Linked DNA regions of Homo sapiens: all the other regions are linked to region 1. Evidence: promoter capture Hi-C in 16 types of primary human blood cells and fetal thymus (Javierre and others, 2016). All regions are on one chromosome and are shown on one strand. Each heading gives the region's core, a stretch centred on a gene start or on the middle of the fragment in contact. The rest is flanking DNA. Distances are from core to core; before and after follow the strand shown.

What was found. The method cuts DNA at HindIII sites, captures the fragments that hold promoters and counts their contacts. A CHiCAGO score of 5 or more calls a contact.
Region 2: a fragment that was not itself captured here is called in contact with the fragment with the promoter of COX7B in region 1 in 1 of 17 cell types (fetal thymus); the score reaches 6.4 in fetal thymus.
Region 3: the fragment with the promoter of ABCB7 here is called in contact with the fragment with the promoter of COX7B in region 1 in 1 of 17 cell types (fetal thymus); the score reaches 5.9 in fetal thymus.
Region 4: a contact is called between the fragment with the promoter of UPRT here and the fragment with the promoter of COX7B in region 1, in 3 of 17 cell types (fetal thymus, non-activated CD4 T cells and total CD4 T cells). The highest score is 12.0, in fetal thymus.

The regions. Positions count from the first base shown.
Region 1 is chrX:77,896,894-77,903,547 of GRCh38, reverse strand. COX7B (cytochrome c oxidase subunit 7B) reads right to left here and starts at 4,080. Exons shown (of 3, transcript NM_001866.3): 1 at 3,955-4,080; 2 at 781-905. The coding sequence starts at 3,994. RefSeq lists an enhancer at 3,877-4,126. The HindIII fragment of the contact is 2,290 bases long and covers 2,076-4,365 here.
Region 2 is chrX:80,802,432-80,809,085 of GRCh38, reverse strand. It overlaps BRWD3 (bromodomain and WD repeat domain containing 3), which reads left to right. Exons shown (of 41, transcript NM_153252.5): 3 at 44-73; 4 at 488-547. It overlaps LOC124905202 (a long non-coding RNA gene), which reads right to left and starts at 278. Exons shown (of 2, transcript XR_007068278.1): 1 at 1-278. The HindIII fragment of the contact is 1,589 bases long and covers 537-2,125 here.
Region 3 is chrX:75,152,338-75,158,991 of GRCh38, reverse strand. It overlaps ABCB7 (ATP binding cassette subfamily B member 7), which reads left to right and starts at 2,709. Exons shown (of 16, transcript NM_001271696.3): 1 at 2,709-2,887. The coding sequence starts at 2,720. It also overlaps a transcript of UPRT not described here. RefSeq lists an enhancer at 2,599-3,028. The HindIII fragment of the contact is 6,846 bases long and covers 173-6,654 here.
Region 4 is chrX:75,269,920-75,276,573 of GRCh38, reverse strand. It overlaps UPRT (uracil phosphoribosyltransferase homolog), which reads right to left and starts at 2,489. Exons shown (of 7, transcript NM_145052.4): 1 at 1,934-2,489. The coding sequence starts at 2,319. LOC124905200 (a long non-coding RNA gene) reads left to right here and starts at 2,538. Exons shown (of 4, transcript XR_007068269.1): 1 at 2,538-3,096. RefSeq lists enhancers at 2,109-2,318, 2,479-2,528, 2,549-2,598. The HindIII fragment of the contact is 1,552 bases long and covers 1,398-2,949 here.

The DNA of each region.
Region 1 (6,654 bases), core at 2,831-5,330:
ATAGGAAAAAGGCAGATTTTAACTCACCATATGATCCTTTTAACAGCTACACAAGGCTGGGCACAGTGGCTCACACCTGTAATCCTAGCACTTTGGGAAACCAAGGCGGGCGGATCACCTGAGGTCAGGAGTTCAAGACCAGCCTAACTAACATGGTGAAACCCCGTCTCTACTAAAAATACAAAAATCTGCCAGGCGTACTGGAGGGCGCCTGTAATCCCGCTACCTGGGAGGCTGAGACAGGAGAATCACTTGAACCCAGGAGGCAGAGGTTGCAGTGAGCCGAGATCGCGCCACTGCACTCCAGCCTGGGCAACAGAGCAAGACTCCGTCTCAAAAAAAAAAAAAAAAAAAAATAGCCAGGCCTGGTGGCACACACCTGTGGTCCCAGCTACTTGGGAGCCTGAGGCAGAAGAAGTGCTTGAACCCAGGAGGCAGAGGTTGCAGTGAGCCAAGATCGCACCACTGCACTCCAGCCTGGGGGACACAGCAAGACTTCTTCTTAAAAAAAAAAAAAAACAAAAACAAAAAAAACAGCTACACAAGATGGAAAGGGCTGCCTTGTGATCCAGTAAGCAATTTATTACTGGGAATGTTAAGAACAGAAGATGGATGAATGCTGGGGGGAAAAAATCCCCTGCACTGTGTGGGTAATTAGATTACACAATCTCTCAAGTCCCTCCTAACTAGATATGTACACTACTATGTTAAGACACTTTGAATGCATAGACTGAGAATGAAAAACATCTGAAACAGAAATTATTAATCAATAGTACTTACATATGTCCATGTAACAATACAGAAAGTGGCTCCACTAGCTAATACAGCATTACCGTATTTGTCATGAAAATCAGGTGTACGTTTCTGGTGGCTCTGCCTTGCCATTGTTTGCTGAATGCTTCGAACTTACAGGAAAACGAAAAAAGAATACAGAAGCATATTATCAATTGTCAGGTAAAGAAAACATATGTGATTGATACTGCCAATCAGGAAAGCCAAGGAAGTTAATTTTACAGTATTATGTAGTTCAATAAAATGTTAAAACATATTGTAGCTATTAAAGCAGTGTACTTTGAAATGCAACAAAAATAAGATGAATTGACAGATGGACAAATACATGATAAAACAAATAGCAAAATGTTAACTGTAGAATCTTTGTGGTGGGTATATGGGTGTTCATACGATTCTTCCAACTCTTCAGTATGTCTGAGAGTTTTCATAATAGTGTTGGGGGAAAAAAGCAAAGAATGAATGATGTCAGTAACATTCTCTACAAAGTGGTATTTGCATAACCCCTGAAATTTTGGCTCCCATTGATTAATTTGAATACTTATGACTTAAATTTTCATTAAAGTTTACTCAATAGAGCCCAACAACTTACAACATACAAGGGCAAATGAACTCAAATGAACTTCAAATTAAAGCACACTAAATGCTTATGACTGTAAAATTACTACAGTAACAAAAAAACTCGCCACAACTAGAGTAATCTTGATTTTTAAAAAATTAATGGGCCAGGCACAGTGGCTCACATCTGTAATCCCAATACTTTCGGAGGCCAAGGTAGGAGGATCGCTTGAGGCCAGGAGTTTCAGACCAGTCTGTGAAACATAGTGAGACCCTGTCTCTACAAAAAAATTGAAAATTAAAAATTAGCCGGGCATGGTGGTGCATGCACACCTGTAGTCCCAGCTACTCAGGAGGCTGTGGCCGGACGATCACTTGAGTCCAGGAGTTAGAGGATGCAGTGAGCTATGATCACACCACTACACTCCAGCCTGGGTAACAGAGCAATTCTCTGTCCCTAAAAATAAAAAATGAGAAATGGGGTATATAAAAAAGTATAAGACAGAGATCCTGTCCTCAAGTAACTTCCAGTCTAGAGGATTACACATGTAGATAAAAATCAGTATCGTACAAGGAAGCAGAATTAGCTAAGGACTTAGTTTTTGAGCAGAATGATAAAGTTTGCTGTTAGTATTATACCAGTAGAAAGAGAAGAACAAAAGTTTTCAAACGGCCCCTGGAAGAACTAAAAAGGAGGGCTTGGGAAACAGCCGAGACTGGAAAAAGCTTGTTTCTAGCTGTTTTTTTTTTTCTTCCTGTCCAATTTAAGGGGCAGGTTCTTATCGTTTTAAAGAGCCTCCAAAGGTACTTACATATATAATGAAAAGCTAGGGAGCCTGAGGCAGGAGAATCACTTGAACCTAGGAGACGGAGATTGCAGTGAACCAAGATTGAGCCACTGCACTCCAGCCTGGGCAACAAGAGCGAAACTTTGTCTCAAAAAAAAAAAAAAGAAACTGCAATGTTGCCCATTCACTAGCAATGAATATTTCTACATGGTACAATGGGTTACTTCATGATAGTTATTAGACCATTATCAGATCTTCTAACTGTCTTACATAGCTTTCCCTTTTCATCTTTTAGTCACACCGGGATAGGCAAATTTACAAATATTTCATAATATATTCTGCTCCAGAAAAGATAAAAAGTGGGCATGTGAATTCCACGCTGAAAAAAAAACAAAAAACCTTTCCTGAGGTACAAGGTGGCCCTATTTGCTCAAAGAGCAAAGAAATTAAGACTACCAAAAAATTCTGCAACATCTCATAACTTCAACACACTCATGTAACTCTGGTGGATTTCATCAGACCTCTCCTCTGTGACAACTGTTTAATTACCACACATTGGTGATCTCATATAATCCTCAACAACCCCATGAAGTAGGCATTATTTACAAATTACTTATTTTACAAAGAAGGAAACTGAGGTTGAGAGAGGCTAAATCATATGCCCAAAGTAAAAGAGATAATAAATGCTACTTTGGGAATATGAAAATAGTCCAGCTAATATTTTGTGGTTATTTTCAAAGTTGCTTAAGAGTTTAGGACACAATCTAATAATATCCTCCAATGATTCTATTAAGTGAAAATCAAAAGATGGCTAAACAAACTAAATAGTAATTACGGGTCACCTTCATTGTGTAACAACTGCCCACGTTACTCAAGGTCACCTTCGGTGCAAATCAAGTATGAAAATTAATTTGTTCTCCTCAATCTATTGCATTTTCTCTACATAATGCTGGTCTCAAAACTCCCTGTACCTGCCCAACCTTTGGATAAGAAAAAAATGACCACGATTGCCTTCAGGACAGCTAACATTGTTTTGTTTTTGTTTTCGAGACGGAGTCCCGCTCTTGTTGCCCAGGCTGGAGTGCAGTAGCAGTCTTGGCTCACTGCAACCTCCGCCTCCCGGGTACAAGCGATTCTCTTGCCTCAGCCTCCCAAGTAGCTGGGATTACAGGCGCCCACCACCACGCCCGGCTAATTTTTGTATTTTTAGTAGGGACGGCGTTTCACTATGTTGGCCAGGCTGGTCTCGAACTCCTGACCTCAGGGGATCCGCCCGCCTTGGCCTCCCAAAGTGCTGGGATTACAAGTGTGAGCCACCGCGCCTGGCCAGCTAACATTGTTAATCCACAAATAACTTCAAAGCTGCATCGATACCATTTGGGTTGTTTCCCTGCAATTAAACCAGGTGAAGAGCTAGATTTACAGTTTCCGTCTATTACAGTAATAGGAATTGGAGAAGATATTTTTCTATACAGGGTTAGGAGTAAACATATCCCCAAAGCTAAAATGTAGGACATCACTTAAGGAACGAGGTGTCTACCAAGAATGTCCTTCCCTGAAATCAAAGGTTACTGAAGAATTAAAAAGCAGGGCTAGACTATCACTCCGATAACAGAAAGAGAGCTGGAAACCGAAACAGAAATACTGGGTGATAAAGCCAATGCTAAGGACATCATCCCAATGACTTGGGACGAGATGGGAGACAGACAGCATTCAAGATTAGAAGGCCGAGATGTTCGTAAAAGGAAAGCACACGAGAGGCCGCGAGGACACATTGATATAAGGTTGTTGTAAATGATTTGTCATAATTTTTGCTCACCTTGGAGACGATTTAGTGCGCTTTTGACCAAGGGAAACATCGTGAAGGTGAAGCTAGAACTGCGGCAATACAGCTGCTGCTTTGGTGCCAATTCGCTTCAGGTACCCTTGAAGTGAGCTGAAAAACAAAATGGCTTTCAGCCGGGATCCGTAATGAGATTTGACGAAATCTCGCGATACCTGTAAAACCTATAGTAATTGCAATCCCTTTTCCCGCGAGGAAAAATAAAGGCCTTTTGGGAAATGTAGTTTCCGGCTTTATAAAATGACGTATGGTGGGTGGTATCTAATGAAGAATGAAAGAACTCCTTGAAGCCAGGTTTAGAGCTCTATAGAGGGCAGCCGAGAGACAGATCTTCGACCGAATCGTCTAAGGAACTAGCTTCAAAATGGCGTTCAAGTTCCACAAGCTTCGGTTTAGTATCTCCACACTAGCTCTTTCTTCTTTCTGTTCCCCCAAAACTTCCTTTACTTCTCTCATTTTTTTTGTCTGCTATTACTACTATACTAATTGGCTTAGCTTTTAGTTTTCAAATAACGTCAAGTTTAGAGAAAAGTTGCAAGAACAGTAAAAACTTCTGTAATATGTAGATAAATACGTGATAAAATAACTTTGGAAAGCTATTGGCCGGGCGCGGTGGCTCACGCCTGTAATCCCAGCACTTTGAGAGGCCAAGGTGGGCGGATCACGAGGTCGGAGTTCGAGACCAGCCTGGCCAAGATGGTGAAACCCCGTCTCTACTAAAAATACAAAAATTAGCCGGCGTGGTGGCGCGCGCCTGTCATCCCAGCTACTCAGGAGGCTGAGGCAGAATAATCACTTGAACCCGGGAGGCGGAGGTTGCAGTGAGCCGAGAACGTGCCACTGGACTCCAGCCTGGGCGACAGAGCGAGACTACGTCTCAAAAAGAAAGAAAGAAAAGAAAGCTGTTAGGCCTGGCGCGGTGGCTCACGCCTGTAATCCCAGCACTTTGGGAGGCCGAGGTGGGCGGATCACGAGGTCAGGAGATCGAGACCATCCTGGCCAACATGGTGAAACCCCATCTCTACTAAAAATACCAACAATTAGCTGGGCGTGGTGGCATGTGCCTGTAATCCCAGCTACTCTGTAGACTGAGGCGGCAGAATCGCTTGAACCAGGGAGTCGGAGGTTGCAGTGAGCCAAGATACCACCACTGCACTCCAGCCTGGTGACAGAGCAAGACTCCGTCTCAAAAAAAAAAAAGAAAAGAAAAGAAAAGAAAAAAAAGAAAGAAAAGAAATGGCAACACGGCAAAACCCCGTCTCTACTAATATACAAAAAATTAGCTGGGCATGGTGGCACATGCTTCTAATCCCAGCTACTCGGGAGGCTGAGGCATGAGACTTGCTTGAACCGGGGAGGCGGAGGTTACAGTGAGCCAAGATCGCACCACTGCACTCTAGCCTGAGACCTGTCCCAAAACAAAAAAAATAAAATACATACAGTTCAGTGGCATTAATGGCATTCACATTGTTGTGCAACTATCACCATTATTCATCTCTAAGACTTTTTCATCGTGTAAAACTAAATGCTTTGATTATACATTTTGACTATTGAAAATATTAACATTATTCCAAAAGTCAAAACTAAACAGACTAGTGTACTTAGAGAAGTGTCATTCCCTCCCCTAACTGTTGCATTCCATTTCCACCAATTCCTATAGGTAACCGATTTCATTACTTTCTGGTTTATCTTGTGTGTTTCCTTTTGCAAAAATAGGCAAATACCTGTATGTTTTCTTATTTCTCTATTTTATACAAATGTAGCATAAAAATCCATTATCATTTTACATAAGTCTTCCTCATTCCTTTTTTACAGCTGCAAAATCTGTGGTGTATATGTGCTATAGTATATTCAGTCAATCTCCTATGTTGGAATATTTAGGTAGTTTCAAGAATATTTCAATTTCAATAATGCTGAAATGAATAACTTTGTGCACACATATTTTCATATTGCTGGATGTCTCTCTCCAAGGTAGGTTACTAGAAGTGGGATTGCTGGATTAAAGGATAAATATATGTGTAGTTTTTTTAGATATTGCCAAATTATAGATGTTGTAACGTTTTGCCTTCCCACCAGCAACGTATTAATATAAAGGGTGCCTGACTCCCCACAGCCTTGCTAATAGCATGTAGTGTCAAGCTTTTGGATTTTTGCCAATATGATAGGTAAGATATCCCTTTTAAACTTTAAAATTTTTATTTTTAAAACATACACATAGTAAAATTCACTTTTTGGTGTACAGTTCTATGCGTTTTGACAAATGCATACAATTGTGTCACCACCACCACAATTAAGGACAGAATAGCTCTAGCATCATAAAAACACCCTTGTTTGACCTCTTTGTGATCAACCCTTTTCCCTACCCCTAGCCCCTGGCAGCCACTAATCTGTTCTCTGTACCAATGAGTTTGCCTTTTCCAGAATGTCATATATAGATTGAATCATACAGTATGTCTCAGTGTACTTTTATTTTGCATTTTTTCTTTTTTCTTTCCTTTTTTTTTTTTTTTGAGATTGAGTTTCGCTCTTGTTGCCCAGGCTGGAGTGTGATAACACGATTTCAGCTCACTGCAAACTCCGCCTCCAGGGTTGAAGCGATTCTTCTGCCTCAGACTCCCATGTAGCTGGGATTACAGGCCTGCGCCACCACACCGGGCTAATTTTTAAATTTTTAGT
Region 2 (6,654 bases), core at 82-2,581, 2.9 Mb before region 1:
TGGCCCGAGCTGCTCCTCATATCTGTGTTTCCCTTTTGCTCAGGTGCTAGTGCAGGAGCTCGAGGAGCATCAGGTACGGAGCCCCTTCGGGAAGGGTGGGGAGGGTTGAGGTGAGACTGGAGGAAGGGGAGGGCAAGTCAGGGGCGGAAGACGGGCTGGGATAGAGGCTTCGATCTGGGTACCCGTAGCTGTTGTCACCGGGGTGAATTGGCTTCTTCCCTCAAAAGGGGCAGACAACGCTGGGGTCTTAACTCGTCCCCGCTTTATGCTTGTGGGAGGCAGTTTTTCAGGATTTCCTTCTCGACCCCCCTTCCCCCCCCCCCCCATATACTTGTCTAGCTCTGAGCCAATAGCTATCAGGCCGAGAGAAATAAAGACGGTAAAGTGTTGAGGACTGGGACACAGGTTGGGTCCAGTTGATGGGGAGCGGAGGCTTTTCCTTCATCATTTGCCTCCGCTTCCCCCTTTCTTTTCGTCCGGCCCCCAGCTGATTCCGCGCCGCTTAGATTGGGAGGGGAAAGAGCACCGAAGAAGCTTCGAGGATCTGGTGAGTAAAGTTTTCATTTCAACTTAACCTAACTCTTTCACCACTCCCTCCCCACCTTGTACCCCCAACCCGCCCCCCACCTCTCAGCCGACGAGGTTCTAGAGCTCGGTGCAGAGCCAAAGAACGACTGCCCCTTCCCCCATCCCTGCTAGTCGGAAAAAGGGTACCTTGCCCTCCCCTTGGCCCTGCTTGTTTCCACCCGAAAACTTTGAAGAATGTGAGTTGATTATCAGAGGTGCCGTGTTGTGGATTATGAATATGTTACAAACATTGGGGAAGGCCCATTGTAGGCGGAAAAGGGAGAGAAACCAAGGGGTTATCTTGGGGCACGTACTAAGGTCTGACGCTGGCCAATGACAGCGTTGGTAACAGCCCGGAGTTCCGGATTAGTGGAAGAAAACTGGTTTCTGGTTGGTCCTGGCCTGAAATACGGGAACTAAGGCCAGGCTTGGTCTTTTTTGGGGGGGGCGGGGGGGCAGGGGGGAGGCGTGGGAGGAAGGGGCTCTGGAGGGGAATTGACGGACCAGGGATTAGGAAAAACGACATAATTAAAAATAATAAGGAGCGTCAAGCCAATTTCAAATTTTGCCGGTTAGGTAATGGTCTACTGAGTAAAAGCATAATCGTTACGTATCTCCGATTTTATAAGCTCATTCAATTATCAGTTAAGTCGCATTTGCATAGACCCGTTTTCACTAAATAGAAACTGAGTTATCACTTTTTGAGAATTGGTGAAACACGATTTTGGGTTTACAAGGAGACAACAATGGACATATTTAAAAATGGAATATACTTTAGTGAAGGACCAAAGGCATTGGTCTATGTTGTTTCTCCTGCAAATATAATTCATAGTATAAATGTACCTTGTGTTCAGCATTGACACACAAAAACAGGTGATCCTTTTTATTTTGCGGGGGAGGTTCCCTTGTGTTAGCTGCTGCCACAGTGCATTGGAGGGTAGTGAAAGGAGAAAGGAATGATGTTACTAAAATCTAAATTCAGCTATCTTTCCTTCAAGTAAGATCCAAGTGGAGGAAAATCGGACAAAGTTAAAGAAAGTTGGCGGTGTATGATAGACTCTAAATATAAATGATTTAAAATTTGCTTGCAATAAGACTATATTTAAATTGCTTCAATGTTCATTTTGTTATTTTTGTTTGTGTTATCTTACAACAGTGAGGCCACATTATTATTATCAAGTCTACCGACTGTATAGTTTTCTTATATTTTGCAAATCACAGAAAATGGTATAATTGTGATAAGGGTAAACTCGACCATCTGTATTATTAATAGTAACAATTTCTCAGATGGAGAAAAATTAGTTTTGAAAAACTTCATGTACTGCCAGGTTAATTTGTAGTCAGTCTTTCTGTTGGACTTAAGTCTTTCCCTCCCCCTAAAAGAGGCAAAAACAACAGTGCCTACTAATATGTTTTAACACTTAATGACTGATACAGGTTTTTATATATAGTTTTAATACTGAGGTGTATTGAAAATGTTTTCCTTTACATTTGTCCTTCTCACAGCCTATATGTGTTATTTTAAGCAAGTGGCAAAGGAGATTAAAAGGAAAAAGCTTTTTTGAAACTAACTTGACAGTGATAAAAAGGAAATGAAAATCAAAGTAATTAAAAAATAGTCTCCTCACCAAAAAAACCCCAACAACCCAGTTTACTAGACTTTTCCTCATATTGTAAAGACATTTTTACATAATTGTGATCAGTGTCCATTTTATGCTTCATATTTTTCTTAACATTTAAAAATGTACTTGTGTATTTGAATAGTCATCATTATTTTAATGGTAAGAAAAAATTCAGTTGTATTTAAGGTACGATATGATTTGAACCAAGCTTCCAGTTGAGCATTTGAGCTACTTCCAGATTTTTACTAATAACTTTGCATAGTTAGGTGGTCTTTTTCTGCTTTTTACTTTCTCCCCTATCCCTTCTGCCCCCAGTTATTTTCCTGGACTTTATTCCCTAAAGTGGAGTTACCAGGTCAAAGGGTCTCATGAGTTTTATAGCTCTTGTCATATATTGTTTGCTCTCCAGAAGATTGTACTAATTTATAATGTCATCATCTAGGTATTTAGAGTGAGTTTTTTAATAGCTTTAAATCATTCAGTTTCTTTAATATTTAATAGATGGCAATAGCTCCTGGTTGACTTAAGTAGCTCTTTTTTTTTCATTACTAGTGAGGCTTAACCTTTAAGGAATTAAATAAAATTGTTAATTCTTACATATACTCAATTTTAACGTATCTTTTAAATATTCTTTTCTGTTTTTATATTTTCTATTTTTTTTACGTACACAGAGTTTGTTCTGTTGTTTGAACATTATAGTTTAGATACCATGGTTTTCTTTTACATGTCTGTTCTCTACCTATGGACTTCTTTGTAAGAGAAGATGGGCAGGGTTGAGTGATAATTTGAACAGAAGTGTAGTGGCTGAGAAGTGAATGTGCAGTGTTGGTTTGATTGCTAAGTTTGTCAGTAATATTTTTGATTAAAATTATTTCACATATGACCTGATTTTGAGTGGCTGCATTGTAGAAGAGATGGGATACTTTTTCTTGGGGTAGGTGTTTTTGTTTTTTTCTTTTTTTTGAGAGGGAGTCTCGCTCTATTGCCAGGCTGGAGTGCAGTGGCGGGATCTCGGCTCACTGCAACCTCCGCCTCCCAGGTTCAAGCGATTCTCCTGCTTCAGCCTCCCAAGTAGCTGGGACTACAGGCACGCGCCACCACGCCCAGCTAATTTTTGTATTTTTTAGTAGAGACGGGGTTTCGCCATGTTGGCCAGGATGGTCTCGATTTCTTGACCTCGTGATTCGTAAACCTCAGCCTCCCAAAGTGCTGGGATTACAGGCATGAGCCACCGCGCCCGGCCTGGGGTAGGTATTTTTTAAATTGTTATTGGAATGATAGATTTATAAAGTGTGGTCTTTGATTTAGCTGCATGTTTTGGATTGAAATTTAGGGCAAAGTATTAATAGTATCATCTTGATTTACCTGGAATATTACATTATATAGCAGCATTACAAACTTAAGGTGTATTGGGGTATGAAAAGGAAAGAGTACAAATGTACAATGAAGTGTTAACTAGGATATCAACATAGTAAATAGGGGTTGCATGGCCACGTATACTGCATATATGAGACAAAAATCCTGCCTTTTTGTTCATATGTATACTTTCATTTGAACTGATTGTCATTAATGCTTAATTTATCAGAATAATATTAAGGTAATGATAAATTGAATTTCTTCAACATTTCATTACTACTGTTAGTAGTAGTAATGAAATCCTTACCTTCTGTTTTCTGAAACAATCATCTGATTCAGTGTTTATACTAAATTACATATTCTAGAAATCCTTGCCTTCTGTTTTCTGAAACGGTCATCTGATTTAGTGTTTAGTGTTTTACTTGTAATTTTGAACACAAGGGAAGGTGCTTTTTTATTAAAGCTGCTTGCAGTTAAGTATTGACGTATCCTGATCTGAAATGTCATTTAAAAAAGAATCTGTACATGATGAAGCATTTTGGTCAGTTTATGTTGAACTGTAAGATTTTTGAATATGGCATTTAAAATATAACACTCTAAATTTTCCAGAATTTTAAGTAATGATAGAGGGAAAATTTTGAAGTTGTGATTGTTTCTGAATTTTCATCTGGGCACTTTATTTTCTGCTTCCTAGTTGGCTGTTACTGACCACATAATAGAATAAGATTTGCTTCTTGCAATTCATCTTAAGGTAGATAATTTAAATAATACAGATGTCCTTTCATTTGTGGTGACCCTATTGAGTTGTTGGCTAATTTATTGCTTCCTCCTTGGAGCTTTACTGGGGACAACAGAGTAATCAAGGTTGTGTGTGTTTAAATGAACAGTTCTTGTTAATCTATAAGTTTTATATATTGAAATGGTGATTTGGAAACTTTTTAAAAACCACATTTTAAGATTTTTAAATCATTTTTAGGAGTCTCGTATCATAAGACTGAACCAGGGCCTGGTGTGGTGGCTCATGCCTGTAATCCCAGCACTTTGAGAGACTGAGGCAGGCGGATCACTTGAGGTCAGGAGTTCAAGACCAGCCTGGCCAACATGGCAAAAGCCCTTTTCTACTAAAAATACAAACATTAGCCGGGTGTGGTAGCTCATGCCTGTAATTCCAGCTACTCAGGAGGCTGAGGCATGAGAATTGCTTGAGCCCTGGAAGCAGAGGTTGCAGTGAGCTGGAATCGCACCACTGCACTTCAGCCTGGGTGACTGAGACTCTGTCTCAAAAAAAAAAAAAAAGACTGAACCAAAGTTATAAATGTGTTTAGGTGTGGTATATAGTTTTACATTTATTTCGCATTTTCATCTCTAAAACTGAAAGCACCAGTTAGCGCTTACATTTGGAATGACATAGATTGTATTACCCTCATTTTATATGCAAAATACTAGAAGTAATTTTATGTTTTTTATGAAAAACTTTTATAAAGATTGTTTGTTATTGTCCTTAAAAAATATACATACATCTATGATTATATGTTGTTATAAGAAGTTGCATCTGCATATAACACATTCAAGTTTAAAAGTGTTTTCACATTATCTCATTTGATCCTCACCAAGTACTTTAAAACACTGTATTTAAATTCCAGACATACCTGTATTCTTTTCTTAACCAGCTGTTGTTCTCCAATTACTAATAATAGCTTAAATTGTCAATTAGAATAGCAGAATGATCTTTGAGTGCTGGTAGCATAGTTATTGCATCTCTAAGTGTGGAAGCAGTTTAAGCATGTTTGATTTATTAACTGCCATGTGGACATAGCCATAGTTAGGAAGAACAGGATGCATCATGGGATATCAAAAAGCATGCTCTGCTCAACCCCAGTGCAGTGTATTGTGCATATAATGCTAACTGATAGGTATTATGACAGAGAGAGGTCAATATCTGGAAATCGGTATTCCTGACTACTCCTGACTACTGACTTGCTTGAGCCACCACGCGCTCTCTGAAATATATTGGCTTTAGCGATTTGTCTAGATTGATCCTTGGCATTTTTTTTTCCACAGATGGGCTCTAAGGAACGTACTTTCAATGATTTAAAATCCTTTTGGAGATTTATCATTAATCTTAGGATAACTGGTATCTCAGTACAAATGAGATACTGTGAAAGTGAAGAGAGCTGGTGTTAGGGACTAATACTTTGGATTCAGTGAACTTGCCTTAATGAAATTTTGTCCTGAGCATCTTTGTCACATTTGAATATTAGTTTTAGTTCCTGTGTTTTAGTTTTTGTTTTACTACTGATGTTGATTACTGATTGATTAATAAACACTTTCCTTTTGGTAGGCAGCAAAATGGTATTCTAAAAAGGTAGTTTAGTGTTTGTGTCATAATTTAGAGATGCCCTTGCTTGACATTTCTTTTTTTTTTTTTTTTTTTTTTTTGAGATGGAGTCTTGCGCTGTCGCCCAGGCTGGAAGGCAGTGGCGCAATCTCGGCTCACTGCAAGCTCCGCCTCCCGGGTTCACGCCATTCTCCTGCCTCAGCCTCCTGAGTAGCTGGGACTACAGGCGCCCGCTACGCCCGGCTAATTTTTTGTATTTTTAGCAGAGACGGGGTTTCTCCGTGTTAGCCAGGATGGTCTCGATCTCCTGACCTCGTGATCTGCCTGCCTCGGCCTCCCAAAGTGCTGAGATTACAGGCGTGAGCCACCGCACCTGGCCTGCTTGACATTTCTTACATGGGATTTTGTGAGTAGTAGAAAAGACCCTAATATTTAGTATGGAATATAGCCTTTACTTGTTGAGTGACCCTAGGGAAATTACTTAAGCTCTCAGAGATTGACTTTCCTCAATTATAAAATGAAAATTTCCCATTTATTGTGGGGAACAAGTGAGTTAAATGTGAAAGAATGCATTTTGTTAATTGTAAAATGCTGTGCAAATGAATTGTTCGCTACATTTTAAAATTAGGATAGAGAGACCGAATAGCCAGCATGGAAATCTGGAGAACTATGACCCCAGATGTTATATTTTCTTAGTCGATGAGATATCATCCCCTAATTTTCTTAATTTTTAATTTTTTTTTTTTTTTTTTTTTTTTTTAAGATGAGAGT
Region 3 (6,654 bases), core at 1,460-3,959, 2.7 Mb after region 1:
ATAGCTAAAAAAGATTCTGCAGTTCTAACAACCTCTCAAGTAATGCCAATGCTAGTGGTCCATGGATCACATTGGAATAGCAAGATTTTAAGGGAAATAACACAAGGCAATGGTGATACAGAGTGGTGGGGACAGGGGGTGGCCTCTTCAGATAAGGTTCTCTTGGAAAGCTTCTCTAAGCAGGTGACATTTGTTTTGAGACCTGAAAGATAAGAAAAAGTCATTTAAAAATCTACAGGAAAGATATTCCTGGTAGAGGGGAAAGCAAGTGGAAAGGTCCTGAGGTGAGAATAAGTTCTGGTATTTTTTAGAAACAGAAGACCACTGTGGCCTTCTTAAATTGCTCAAGTGTTTCTTCCACATTTCAGGTGTTATTAAGTGAAAAGAGCACTATGTTTGGAGTCATAAAACCTAGGTTTGGTCTCCATCCCATTAGCTCTGTGGCCTCTGACCTAGTCACAACTTTTCTTAGCCTCAGTTTCCTCATAAATATGGGCATATTAATAAATAATACCTATCTTCCATGGTCGATGTGAGGACTAAATGAAATAAGGTATGACAAAGCGGATTGTAAGTTACAAAATACTATACACATTTAATTATTGCATACATAAAGTGCTATCATGTGATCTGTGGTTGTAGCAGCTATTTATAGCAGCTTTTATTGTGTATACCTCTGTCTCTTTAATTTATGTCAGACAGTTATGTGTCAAGTTATTACAGGCTGAGTTGGCCTTTTTGTTGCTGCTCTTCCCCAGCAGTGTGCAACTCTTATTATGCCTCACGTTCTATTTCTGGGTGCCCTGGAAATTTTCTTCGGCTTATTTGGCAAATAAATATTTGCCTCACTTTAGCTCATCATAGAGTAACAACTTGGGTATTTCAATGTTATTCACACTTTTTGATCAAAACAGTTGGCTTACAATGAGCACTACTTTTGGAAAAAAATAATTTGGCTCCATTCAAAGACTTTACAACTGGGTGGTAAGATTCAGTGGCAATATTCAGCCCTAAGAGAAATCATTAGTAGAGTCTAGAGTTTCTCTAATGTATACTGTAGCTGTCTAACACAGAATAGATGCTGAATAAATATTTGTTGATGACAATATAGTCATTAATATGAAGCCATTACTGATCTACTGTCAACAATACAATAATAAGCTAGAAACATCCAATTAGTCACTAAGTCTTGCCAATTCCATCTCCTAATTGCCCTGCAATCGATCTACTGCCACTGCTACTGCTAGGTTGAGGCCTTTATTTTATGACTGAACTATTGCATTAACTTCATGACTTCAATATGAACTCCGTCCAATCCAACCTTCTCACTTAAGCCAGAGTAGCTTAATGGACATATAAATCTGATCATGTTACTCTCCTGATTAAAACTCTTCACTGGTTATAGGATAAAGTATTAACTTCTTAGAATGAAATAGAAGGCCCTTTACCATCAGGTCTCTGTTCACTCAGGTTAACCTCCTACTACTTTCCCAAACTCCATAGACTCCTGAACCTGAAAATATTTTCTTATGCCTTCTTGCTTTTAACATGTCATCTTCTTTACGTGTAATTCCAGTCAACCTCTTCAACTTGAATTCTATTTTTCTTTAAATAACTAGCTCAAGCATCCCCTTGAATGAATCCCAGAACAAAAAAGCTAACTGCATGGGCTACAGATTTCTGTTTTTCTTTATCAGACTTACTAGTCCAAAGTACCTCTTCATAAGAAGTCCATAATTATTTGTCTCTTTTGTGTGAAAAGTTGGAGAATGCAGCAGTGAATATAAAATTGCAACTGCATTATTGTCTCCGGGGTTTCAGGTAACATTTACAACTGGAAATGCAGTTTCCTAGATAACTGTAAACATATTTTGACATTTTGTTTGATAATAGTGGTGACAAAAGAATATAAGCCTGTCTTTAAACATGGTCTTCTCTCCATACATTTCACTTTACCACCCTTCAGCCAACCTAAGCGATTTTTCAAGAATTAGGGACGCTGCAAAAACCAAAGCGAAGAGCTAGAAAGAGTGACAAAATTAGTAAAGATGTCTGTAGTCTCTCTGTGTGTGTGTGTGTGTGTGTGTGTGTGAGACTGTCCCACGAGCAACAGACCAAAGGAAAACTGCCCCAAGGTTTGCGCAACAGAGAACAATCAGCAAAGTTAAAGTCCTTACAGGACAGAAAAGCAGTAAATCTTACAGCTGAAGCCTCCTCCCAGGGGAAATTAACGTCTGTAGTTTAATCTTTCCTTAATTCAGAAGGGAGTGAAGATAAGAATATGCATAGGGAAAATGGAGAGAGGGGAGCGTGACATTGAGTTGGAGGAGGTAAGAGAGTATTATGAGAGACAAGATGGGGTTGACAGATTTAGCAGATACAATATTTGGGACACACGCACGAAGAGATGATTCGTTGTTTATGTAAAATTGAAACTTAACTAGGTAGGCATCCTGTATTTCATCTGGCAACTCCAGGAAAAGAGAAAAATACAGTGTTACTCCAATATTCCCGGTTGTGTAAGGAAAACAATCAAAGCTCGGCCCTAAGGAAAAACAAATAAAAGAGGCTGTGCGAATGCATCCGAATCTTCAAACAGAATCCATTTCCGGTCTGGGGCCCTGGGAAAACAAGAAGAGGAGAGACAATTAAGGTAGCCGAATTCAGTCCGCCAGTGTCCCATAATCCTCTTCTCTCGGTTCCTCTTTCCTCGCTCAAGATGGCGCTGCTCGCGATGCATTCTTGGCGCTGGGCGGCCGCGGCGGCTGCTTTCGAAAAGCGCCGGCACTCCGCGATTCTGATCCGGCCTTTAGTCTCTGTTAGCGGCTCAGGTCCGCAGTGGAGGCCACATCAACTCGGCGCCTTGGGAACCGCTCGAGCCTACCAGGTGAGATGCCACTGACATGGAAGAATAGGGTGAAGGGCAAGGGGACCTGTAGGGAAAAGGTTGCCCTCCTGACCTCGGGGCAGAGAGAGCACCAAGAAGAAAGTCATGGCTAACTGGGAGCAGCAGTAAGTGAAGGAAATTAACGTCAGTAATTTGAGGAAAGGGCGAAGAAGAAAACCTTTGAGTTCAGCAAAGGGAAACGGGGCAGGAGGTTCTGGGCAGAGGACACCTGGAGCGCTGGAGGCTCTCGGAGTCATAGTTTTTCTCTCATATTAAGAGTTGGGGTAGACACCATTCCCAGCCTGCTTGCCTTTCTAAAGACGAGGAAGACTGGATTATTTTCCCCAATTAGTAATGGAATTTGGGACAGTTTATCTGTGGTTCAGATTTTACTCAGTTGGAATTAGCAATTCGGAGAGCACTGTAATGACAGCAAGCTATCTATAAACAGGTGGCGCCAGTTAACTCCCTTGCTGACAGGCGTGCTTCTTGATAGGCCAAAACCGTAACTATCTTTCCAAAACATAGACCGCCCTAAATTCTTGTATAAATATGACTGTCCTAGATCTGAAAAATACAGTGATGTTCTCTGTGCACAGGTCATTTTGGAAGCCATAGGCTACTTATCCTTAACTTATGAATGTAGCTATGGTTGTAGTGCCTCCTAAAATTTGAGTCCATTATTACCTCTCACTCAGGAACGGTTTTTTAAAAAATTATTTGTACTTAACTGTACTAAAGTATATCTTTTTATTTTCTGTGTATTGACAAGAGGTTTAATTGCCACCACGTATTTATCACTATCACTTTAAAATATTGTCAGTTTTGTATGAGAAACAACCTCTTAAATTTTGATTCTTCATCTACAAATATTTAACGTCTACCTTGTACATAGCCCTGTGCTAGATGATAGGGTACTAAGAGAGACATACAGTTATGCCTTCAAGGATTGTACAGTTTAGTTAAGGAGATTGGATCTATGCATTACAAAAATAACTGAAAAACACAGTGGTGGGTTAATTAGCAAATGAATAGTATGTACAATAAAGGCTATAGGCATCCAGAGGAAATAGTGATAATTAAGGACCAGGTTATAAAGAGTATTTCATGCTGGTGATAGAACTGGGGAGAATGTTCTGAACAGGGAGAATAGGGAATGACACTAAGCATGTGGAAGGCTGATGGAATGACATTTATAATTCATTCAGTAATTATTGAACACCTCTACAGGAGCAAACAAAATATAAGTCCTGTCTTTAAAGAGCTTAAAATCTAGTGGGAAATATGTAAATTAATCGGCAATTAAAATATAGTGGAGCTGTGTAATAATGGGAAAGGTACAAGGTATGGGACAGTATATGTGAGGGGTATTAAGTCTAATTGTAAGGTAGTGAAGATTGCCTTAAGTAACTGATATCTAAGGCAAGAGCTGAAAAATTAGAAGTTAGCCAGTTAAAGAAGGAATCGCATGTGCAAAGGCCCACAAGTCAGAGAGAACATGGACCTTTTCTAGAACTGCACGTAGTTTAGACTGTAGTGAGTCATTCAAGATAGGAAATAGCAGATTAGGCTAACGAAGCGAATCTAGATGATTTCATTAAGGTTTTTAAAGTATTTTATGGTTGAAAGTTTCTAACACATGATCTCTTGGGAATGGTTTTTGTTCTGTAGTTCTCCAATAAGGCAGATGAAGTTAAGATAAAATTTGTAAATGTTATCTTAGATAAAATTAGATATCTTAAGATAAAATTTCTTAAGCTGGAAGAATGAGGGGGAAGAGGGAAAAGGAGAAGTTATTAGGAATCTCAGAGGAGGCAATGGCAATACAAATTTAGCTTTCTCTCTTTCCATGAACGCTATCTCCACAACTTCCTTCTTCCACTCTGTCCTTTACATCCTACCATTTCCTTTAGTTACCATTTCCTCAGTGTGCAAAACAAGGGAAAGATGTTACCTTTGTTTTCTGTTTCTTAAAGGCATGGAACTCTTGCCATCCTTTTTTTAAAACAGGGTGAGAAAGGAATGATTACAAAGTTTTCAAAGTAGAAGCTGAGGTAACCTGAGGTACCTGCAAATTTGTGACTTGTGATTAAGATTACAAAATAATTACTGAATTCATACTTTTAGGACGATCATTAGTATATAGCATAATATTTTAGAGCTGAAAGGAACCTTAGAGCAGTGTTATGAAATAATGTTAGTGGGTTGGATTAGCACTTTTTTAGATGAAATTCAGTAGAATATAAAGAAAATAGCAGTGCTTTTTACATCTTAAGTGAAGTATTGTTTCATGAACTTTTATGTGTATATACACACACACATATATATTTTATATATATATATACACACACACACACGCACACACACACACACACAGTCCCACATGTATGTGATTACTGGAATTCATTGTAAGTATTTCTCACCCAGTATATGCCCTAGACCTGGGTTGTGGAATATGGTAGTTCTTTTGGATAGGTACTGTTTTGTTTTCATTTGTTGGTCTGACCTCATGGACCAAGAATGGGAGCTTTAATTTCTCCCAGTAGCAAGTTCCACCTTCCTACTCTTCCACCATTGGCTGCTAAGAGTTAGCAGAGTAGATAAAAATTAAAATACTTTACTCCTGGCTTTCATATTAACTGAAGTGGGAATATAATAACAACACTAGGGAAATAATCCTCCTATTCTATATTTTAGAGGTTCTAGTTCATATTTAAATTTAACAATATAAGATGCCTATGAAGAAACTACAGTGATTATTCAACAGTCGTCCCAAAATATACTAAAAGAATAGAAAACAGAACTTATTCATCCTGGCTAACATGGTGAAACCTCGTCTGTACTAAAAATACAAAAAAAATTAGCCGGGCATGGTGGCGGGCTCCTGTAGTCCCAGCTATTCGGGAGGCTGAGGCAGGAGAATGGCGTGAACCCGGGAGGCGGAGCTTGCAGTGAGCTAAGATCGCGCCAGTGCACTCCAGCCTGGGCGACAGAGCAAGACTCCGTCTCAAAAACAAGCAAACAAACAAACAACAACAACAAAAACAGAACTTACAAGAGAAATAAGGGTGTCTTTAAGTGGATTATAGATCATGGAACTGAAAAGGGTGAGAGGTGATTCAGTGACATTTAAAGTACCTGAAGCGGCCTGGCCCAGTGGCTCATGCCTGTAATCCTAACACTTTAGGAGGCCAAGGCAGGTGGATCACCTGAGGTCAAGAGCTCGAGACCAGCCTGACCAATATGGTGAAACCCCGTCCATACTAAAAATACAAAAAGCAGCTGGGCATGGTCACGTGCACCTGTGACTACAGCTACTCAGGAGACTGAGACAGGAGAATTGCTTGAACCCTGGAGGCGGAGGTTGCAGTGAGCCGAGATCGCGCCACTGTACTCCAGCCTGGGCGACAGAGCGAGACTTCCTCTCAAAAAAAAGAAAAAAAAAAAAGGACCTGAAGGGGTTATTTGTAGTTCAGTGATGCCTAAACTTAACTGGAACATTAGGTTATGATACAAAGATGTGGACTTCATTTGCAGGAAGAGGGATTTAATGTGCATATGAGAAATAATTTCTTAGACTAATAGTCTATCTTAGTCTGTTTGGGCTGGTATAACAAAATACCATAAACTACATGACTTATAAGCAAGAGCAATTTATTTCTCACAGTTCAAGGTGCTGACAGATTTAGTGTCTGGTGAGGTCTTGAGGTTCATAGGCGGTGCCTTTTAGCTGTGTCCTCATGTGGTAGAAGAGACAAGGCAGCTCT
Region 4 (6,654 bases), core at 1,240-3,739, 2.6 Mb after region 1:
CATCATCTATTTTTCTTTGTTGTATATGTAAGATTTATTTTGGCTGCCCCTACCCTACCACAACTACAGCAAACCTATGCCTCCTATTTTTTAGGATCACTATTTTGTCTATTAGATAACATAACCACAGTAGTTTTCAATATTGATTCATTAAAAAGAGTAAAATAGTATAGTTTCATAAATATAATTTTAAGAGCTACAAAAAAACTCTAGTAATTGAGCATCTATTATTTGCAAGGCATGGCCGGCATTCAAAAATGTAAAAGATTTCTGCCTTCAAGATGTCATAGGCAGGATAAGATCTATACAAAAATAACAATATACGAAAAAGAAGGTGAATCTTGCATTAAAAAGACCAGGGAAGATAAGCCAGGAATAATGATTAAAGGGAAGCTTCTTGGCAGAGGTGGACAATTATTTAATGCTGTGTTTCACCCTGAAGAATAAGTATCCTGAACGTACATAAAGGAGACACAGGGAATTCCAGATGAGAGCAGAAACAGATATGTTTCAGAATTGTTCCTAGGAACTATGAAGAAGGGCCTTCATCCCAAGCTAAGGGGGCCAGGCATGGTGGCTCACACCTGTAATCCCAACATTTTAGGAGGCCGAGGCACGAGGATTGCTTGAGGCCAGGAGTTCAAGACCATCGTGGACAATATAGCAAGACCTCCATCTCTACAAAAAAATAAAAAATTAGCCGGGGGGCAGTGCCATGTCCCTGTAGTCCCAGCTACTCAGGAGGCTAAGGCAGGAGGATTACTTGAGCCCAGAAGTATGAGGGTACAGTAAGCTGTGATCTCACCACTGCACTCCAGCCTGGGTGACAGAGAAAGATCCTGTCTCAAAAATATCAATCAAGCTAAGGATCCTGGACTTTATTTGGTAGGCTCTGAGAAGCCAAAGAAGGTTGCTGAGTAGGGCAATTACTGAATCAAAGATGTATGTTATGAAGATTGATTGTACAGTAATGTATGGGTGCATGTGGAAGAGAGGAAAAACTGCAAGCAGAGAAACAGTATTATTACAATAGTGTAAGACAAGGTTTCTAGAGTCTGGTTTAGGGAGTGGCATCTGTCATTCAGTAGCCATTTTTAAAAGATCAAGGCATGTCCCCCCAACCCCTGCCACTAAAAAAGGGGTGTTTTGATATGCTGCTCATTTAAAGTGCTGCCAATAAAGAAAATAGCTGTAGTTCATCATGGTACATATTTCCCTGGAGAAAACCCATTTACAACGTAGGTTTAGAAATTTCAAAATTACATTTTAACATGAAGTTCTGGCTACATTGGTTTGTGGGATTAGGAAGGGCCAAAGGCTCCTTTAGGCTCCCTTTGATCCATTAACTATGTTCTGTGAGTTTACAGTGAAAAATGATAAGAGTTGGACGATAAGCTTTCATGTGATCAAGTAAACCTGAACTCCAAGACTAAAAGACCTTGTTTGCAGTAGCAAATACTAAAGGGTCAGGGCCTGAATAGAATTTCCTTGAAATTGCTTTATTTCTATTTATGAACCTGAGGTGATTGGTGGTAGTGCATAACCTTGGATAGTAACCATTTCTGGGTTATAGGTTTACCATGTGGACAAGCACTGCCCACATAGTATAGGGGAGTTTACCTGCCTGGAATGGCCAAGGAGTTGTCTTTCCTGGGAGAGACAAAGAGCCCAGAGGCTACCTAAAGTCTTCCTCCCCACCCAAAGTGATGTTAGACACCGGAACTTGGAAAGAGAAGGTTGGCGTTCGAGTTACACGACACACACACACACACACACACACACACACACACACACACACCAAATAAAAGGTCTTACCCCAATCTCCAAAGTTTGCCAAGGCCAAGAACACTGTCTCTTAGCCCTTTTACTTCCAATCCCCGCCCACAGCCTGCAAGACCCTCCACTTCCCTTTCCCCTTCCGCTCTTGGCTTACTTGTCACGGATGATGGTCTGTAGCTCCCGTATCTGATCATTCATAGGCAGCAGCTTAAGCTGCGCCCCGATCTGCCGGGAGAGTTCGCAGTCCTCTAGGAAGGAGTTGCCAGCTGGTGCGTCATAGCTGCTACTGTCACCACTACCACTGTTGCCCTCTGAGTTGAGGCTGGAGCCGCCGCAGGCCCCAGAGTCCAGCTCGGCCGGCAGGCTAGAATGGGCGTACCCCGTGAGGAGAATCACCTTGGCCCTGGAGGCTCTGTTTCCCCCTGCGTGGTCCAGGATCAGATCGCCAGGTCGCAGCTGCTCGGGACTTGGGGTTGAGGCAGAGTTTACTTGCTGGTTGTGACAGGGCATGGAGTCCGGACACTGTAACTCCGTGGCCATACACCGGGCCCCGGGCTATCCCCGCTGCTACTGAACACTAAAGATAAAGAGGAACGGGTAGAAAGGACAGATGCTCACGTGCTCTCTCGGTTGCTCCCGCCTCCTCAGAACATCTAACCCTGGCTGTCCTTTCACCCCTAGGCCGCTGTTGGTTTCCTTTAGCACACTTTGGCTCACTCCCGCCCACACCAGACGTACTGCCTGCCTAGACACCCTATTGGCTGCACTCCCCGCCACTCTGCGGCGCCACTGCTTGTTAACCCTTTGAGTCACCCTTGCTACGTGGGTTCCCACAGGTAGCTAAGCCCCCGCAGCGAGGCCAAGGATGCCAGCTTGAAGGATCTTCCGGGGGCCCCTGGGGCTTCTGCATTCAGAACTTTGGGTGATTAGTAGAGCCAGGAAAAACTGGGGGTGGCAGGTGATGATACACAGTTACACACGTAAGGCCCATGTTTTCAGACTTTGTGACCTAGCAGAGAAATTATATCTCAGTAACCGCATCTTCAGTTAGCTTGTCTGCATAACAGAAGGAAGAAGTAAAAAAATGCCTAGCAGGCTGCTGAAGAGGCTGTCCTCTACTAGACTGTTCTAGAAACTGCAGCTTCCCAAGTATGCTTGACCGCCAAAGCTTTTCTTATCTTTATTGGTTGGGCCCCACAGTGTACACGTTGTCATGGGGACTCAGGCGGCATTTCAGATCCACTATCATTTTGAATCTTTAAAGTACTTGGAAAGACGCTTATTTTTAAGTGTATGGACTCACTATAACGGCCTGAGGTAAGAGTGTCTAGGGCAGTACTTTTCAAACATCAGTATGTACCACAATAATTGTAGAGCTTGTTAAAATGCAGGTTCTTACGGCTCATTTTTGAGATTGTGATTCTGTAGATCCGAGATGGGATACAAGAATCTTTTTTTTTTTTTAACTTTTAAGTTCAGGGATATATGTGCAGGTTTGTTACATAGGTTAACTTCTGTCATGGGGGCTTGTTGTAAAGATTATTTCATCGCCCAGGTATTAAGCCTAGTACCCACTAGTTGTCTTTCCTGATCCTCTCCCTTCTCACACCATGCACTCTGCAGTAGGCTCCAGTGTGTGTTGTTCCCCACTATGTGTCCATGTGTTCTCATCATTTAGCTCCCACTTATAAGTGAGAACATGCAGCATTTGGTTTTCTGTTCTTGTGTTAGTTTGCTAAGGATAATAGGCTCCAGCTCCATCCATGTCCCTGCAAAGGACATGATCTCATTATTTTTTATGGTTGCATAGTATTCCATGGTGTATATGTACCACATTTTCTTTATCCATTCTATCATTAATGGGTAGTTAGGTTGATTCCATGTCTTTGTTATTGTAAATAGTGCTGGAGTTAACATATGTGTGCATGTGTCTTTAATAAAACAATAATTTATGTTCCTTTGGGTATATACCCAGTAATGGGATTGCTGAGTTGAATGGTATTTCTGTCCTTCCTTTTTTTAACATGCCTATACAGATTTTTTTATAATTTTTTTTTTATTTCCATAGGTTATTGGGGAACAGGTGCTGTTTGGTTAGATGAGTAAGTTCTTTAGTGGTGATTTGAGAGATTTTGGTGCATCCATCACTCGAGCAGTATACACTGTACCCTATTTGTAGTCTTTTATCTCTCAAGCCCTTCCCACCCTTTTCCTCCAAGACCCCAAAGTTCATTGTATCATTCATATGCCTTTGTATCCATCATAGCTAAGCTCCCACTTATGAGTGAGAACATACAATGTTTGGTTTTCCATTCCTGAGTTACTTCACTTAGAATATTAGTCTCCAATCTCATCCAGGTCGCTGCAAAAGCCATTAATTCATTCCTTTTTATGGCTGAGTAGTATTCCATATATATATACATATATATATATACACATATATATATGTGTATATATATATATACATATATATGTATATATACACATATATATACACATATATATGTGTATATATATATATATCTCACAGCTTCTTTATCCACTCATTGATTGATGGACATTTGGGTTGGTTCCACGTTTTTGCAATTGCGAATTATGCTGCTATAAACATGCGTGTGCAACTATCTTTTCTGTATAATGACTTCTTTTCCTCTGGGTAGATACCCAGTAATGGGATTGCTGGATGAAATGGTAGTTCTACTTTTAGTTCTTTAAGGAATCTCCACACTGTTTCCATTAGTTGACATTCCTACCAGCAGTGTAGCAGTGTTCCCTGTTTGCCACATCCATGCCAACATCTACTATTTTTTAATTTCTTTGATTATGGCCATTCTTGCAAGAGTAAGGTGGTATTAAATTGTGGTTTTAATTTGCATCTCTCTGATAATTAGTGATGTTGAGCATTTTTTAATACATTTCTTGGCCATTTGTATATCTTCTTTTGAGAATTGTCTATTCATGTCCTTAGCCCACTTTTTGATGGGATTGTTTGTTTTTGTCTTTCTGATTTGAGTTCCTCGTACATCCTGGATATTAGTCCTTTGTCAGATGTATAGATTGTGAAGATTTTCTCCCACTGTATGGGTTGTCTGTTTACTCTGCTGACTGTTCCTTTTGCTGTGCAAAAGCTCTTTAGTTTAATTAAGTCCCAGCTATTTATCTTTGTTTTTATTGCATTTGCTTTTGTGTTCCTGGTCATGAAATCTTTGGCTAAGCCAATGTCTATAAGGGTTTTTCCAAAGTTATCTTCTAGAATTTTTATAGTTTCAGGTCTTAGATTTCAGTCCTTAATCCATCTTGAGTTGATTTTTGTATGAGGTGAGAGATGAGGATCCAGTTTCATTCTCCTACATGTGGTTAGCCAATTATTCCAGCACCATTAGTTGAAAAGGGTGTCCTCTCCCCACTTTATATTTTTGTTTGCTTTGTCGAAGATCAGTTGGCTGTATTTGGATTTATTTCTGATTTTGTGTTTTGTTCCATTGGTCTGTGGGTATATTTTAATACCAGTACCATGCTGTATTCGTAACTATTGCCTTATAGCATAGTTTGAAACCAGGTAATATGATGCCTCCAGATTTATTCTTTTTGGCTATATGGGCTATTTTGCTTCAATATGAATTTTAGAATTGTTTTTTCTAATTCTGTGAAGAATGATATTAGTATTTTGATGAGAATTGCATTGAATGTGTAGATTGCTTTTGGCATTATGATCCTGTTCACAATATTGATTCTACTCGTCCATGACATGGGTTATGTTTCCATTTGTTTGTGTCGTCTATGATTACTTTCAGAAGTGTTTTGAATTTTCCTTGTAGAGGTCTTTCACCTTCTTGTTTAGATATATTCCTAAGGATTTTTTTTTCACATAAAGTGTTTATTTTTTCCTTATTATACTTTAAGTTCTGGGGTATTTGTGCAAAACGTCCAGATTTGTTACATAGGTATACATGTGCCATGGAGGTTTTCTGCACCCATCAACCCATCGCCTACATTACGTAGTTTTCCTAATGCTATCCCTCCCCTAGCATCCCAACCCTGAAAGACCACAGCATGTGATGTTCCCCTCCGTGTATCTATGTGTTCTCATTGTTCAACTCACACTTATGAGTGAGAATATGAGGTGTTTGGTTTTCTGTTCTTGTGTTAGTTTGCTGAGAATGATGGTTCCCAGCTTCATCCATGTCCCTGCAAAAGACATGAACTCATCCTGTTTTTATAGCTGCATGGTAATCCATGGTATCTATGTGCCACATTTTCTTTATCCAGTCTAAAATTGATGGGCACTTGGGTTGGTTCCAAGTCTTTGCTATTGTGAATAGTGATACAATAAACACATGTGTGCCTGTGTCTTTATAGTAGAATGATTTATAATCCTTTGGGTATATACCCAGTAATGGAATTGCTGGGTCAAATGGTATTTCTGGTTCTAGATCCTTAAGGAATCCCCACACTATCTTCCACAATGGTTGAACTAATTTACACTCCGACCAACAGTGTAAAAGCGTTGCTATTTCTCCACATCCTCTCCAGCATCCGTTGTTTCCTGACTTTTTAATGATCACCATTCTAATTGGCGTGCGATGGTATGTTATTGTGGTTTCAATTTGAATTTCTCTAATGACCAGTGATGATGAGCTTTTTTTCATATGTTCGTTGGCTGCATAAATGTTTTCTTTGGAGAAGTGTCTGTTCATATCCTTCACCCACTTTTTGATGGGGCTGTTTGTTTTTTTCTTGTAAATTTATTTACGTTTTTATAGATTCTGGATATTAGCCCTTTGTCAGATGGGTAGATTGCAAAAATTTTCTCCCATTCTGTAGGTTGCCTTTTCACCCTTATGATAGTTTCTTTTGCTGTGCAGAAGCTCTGTT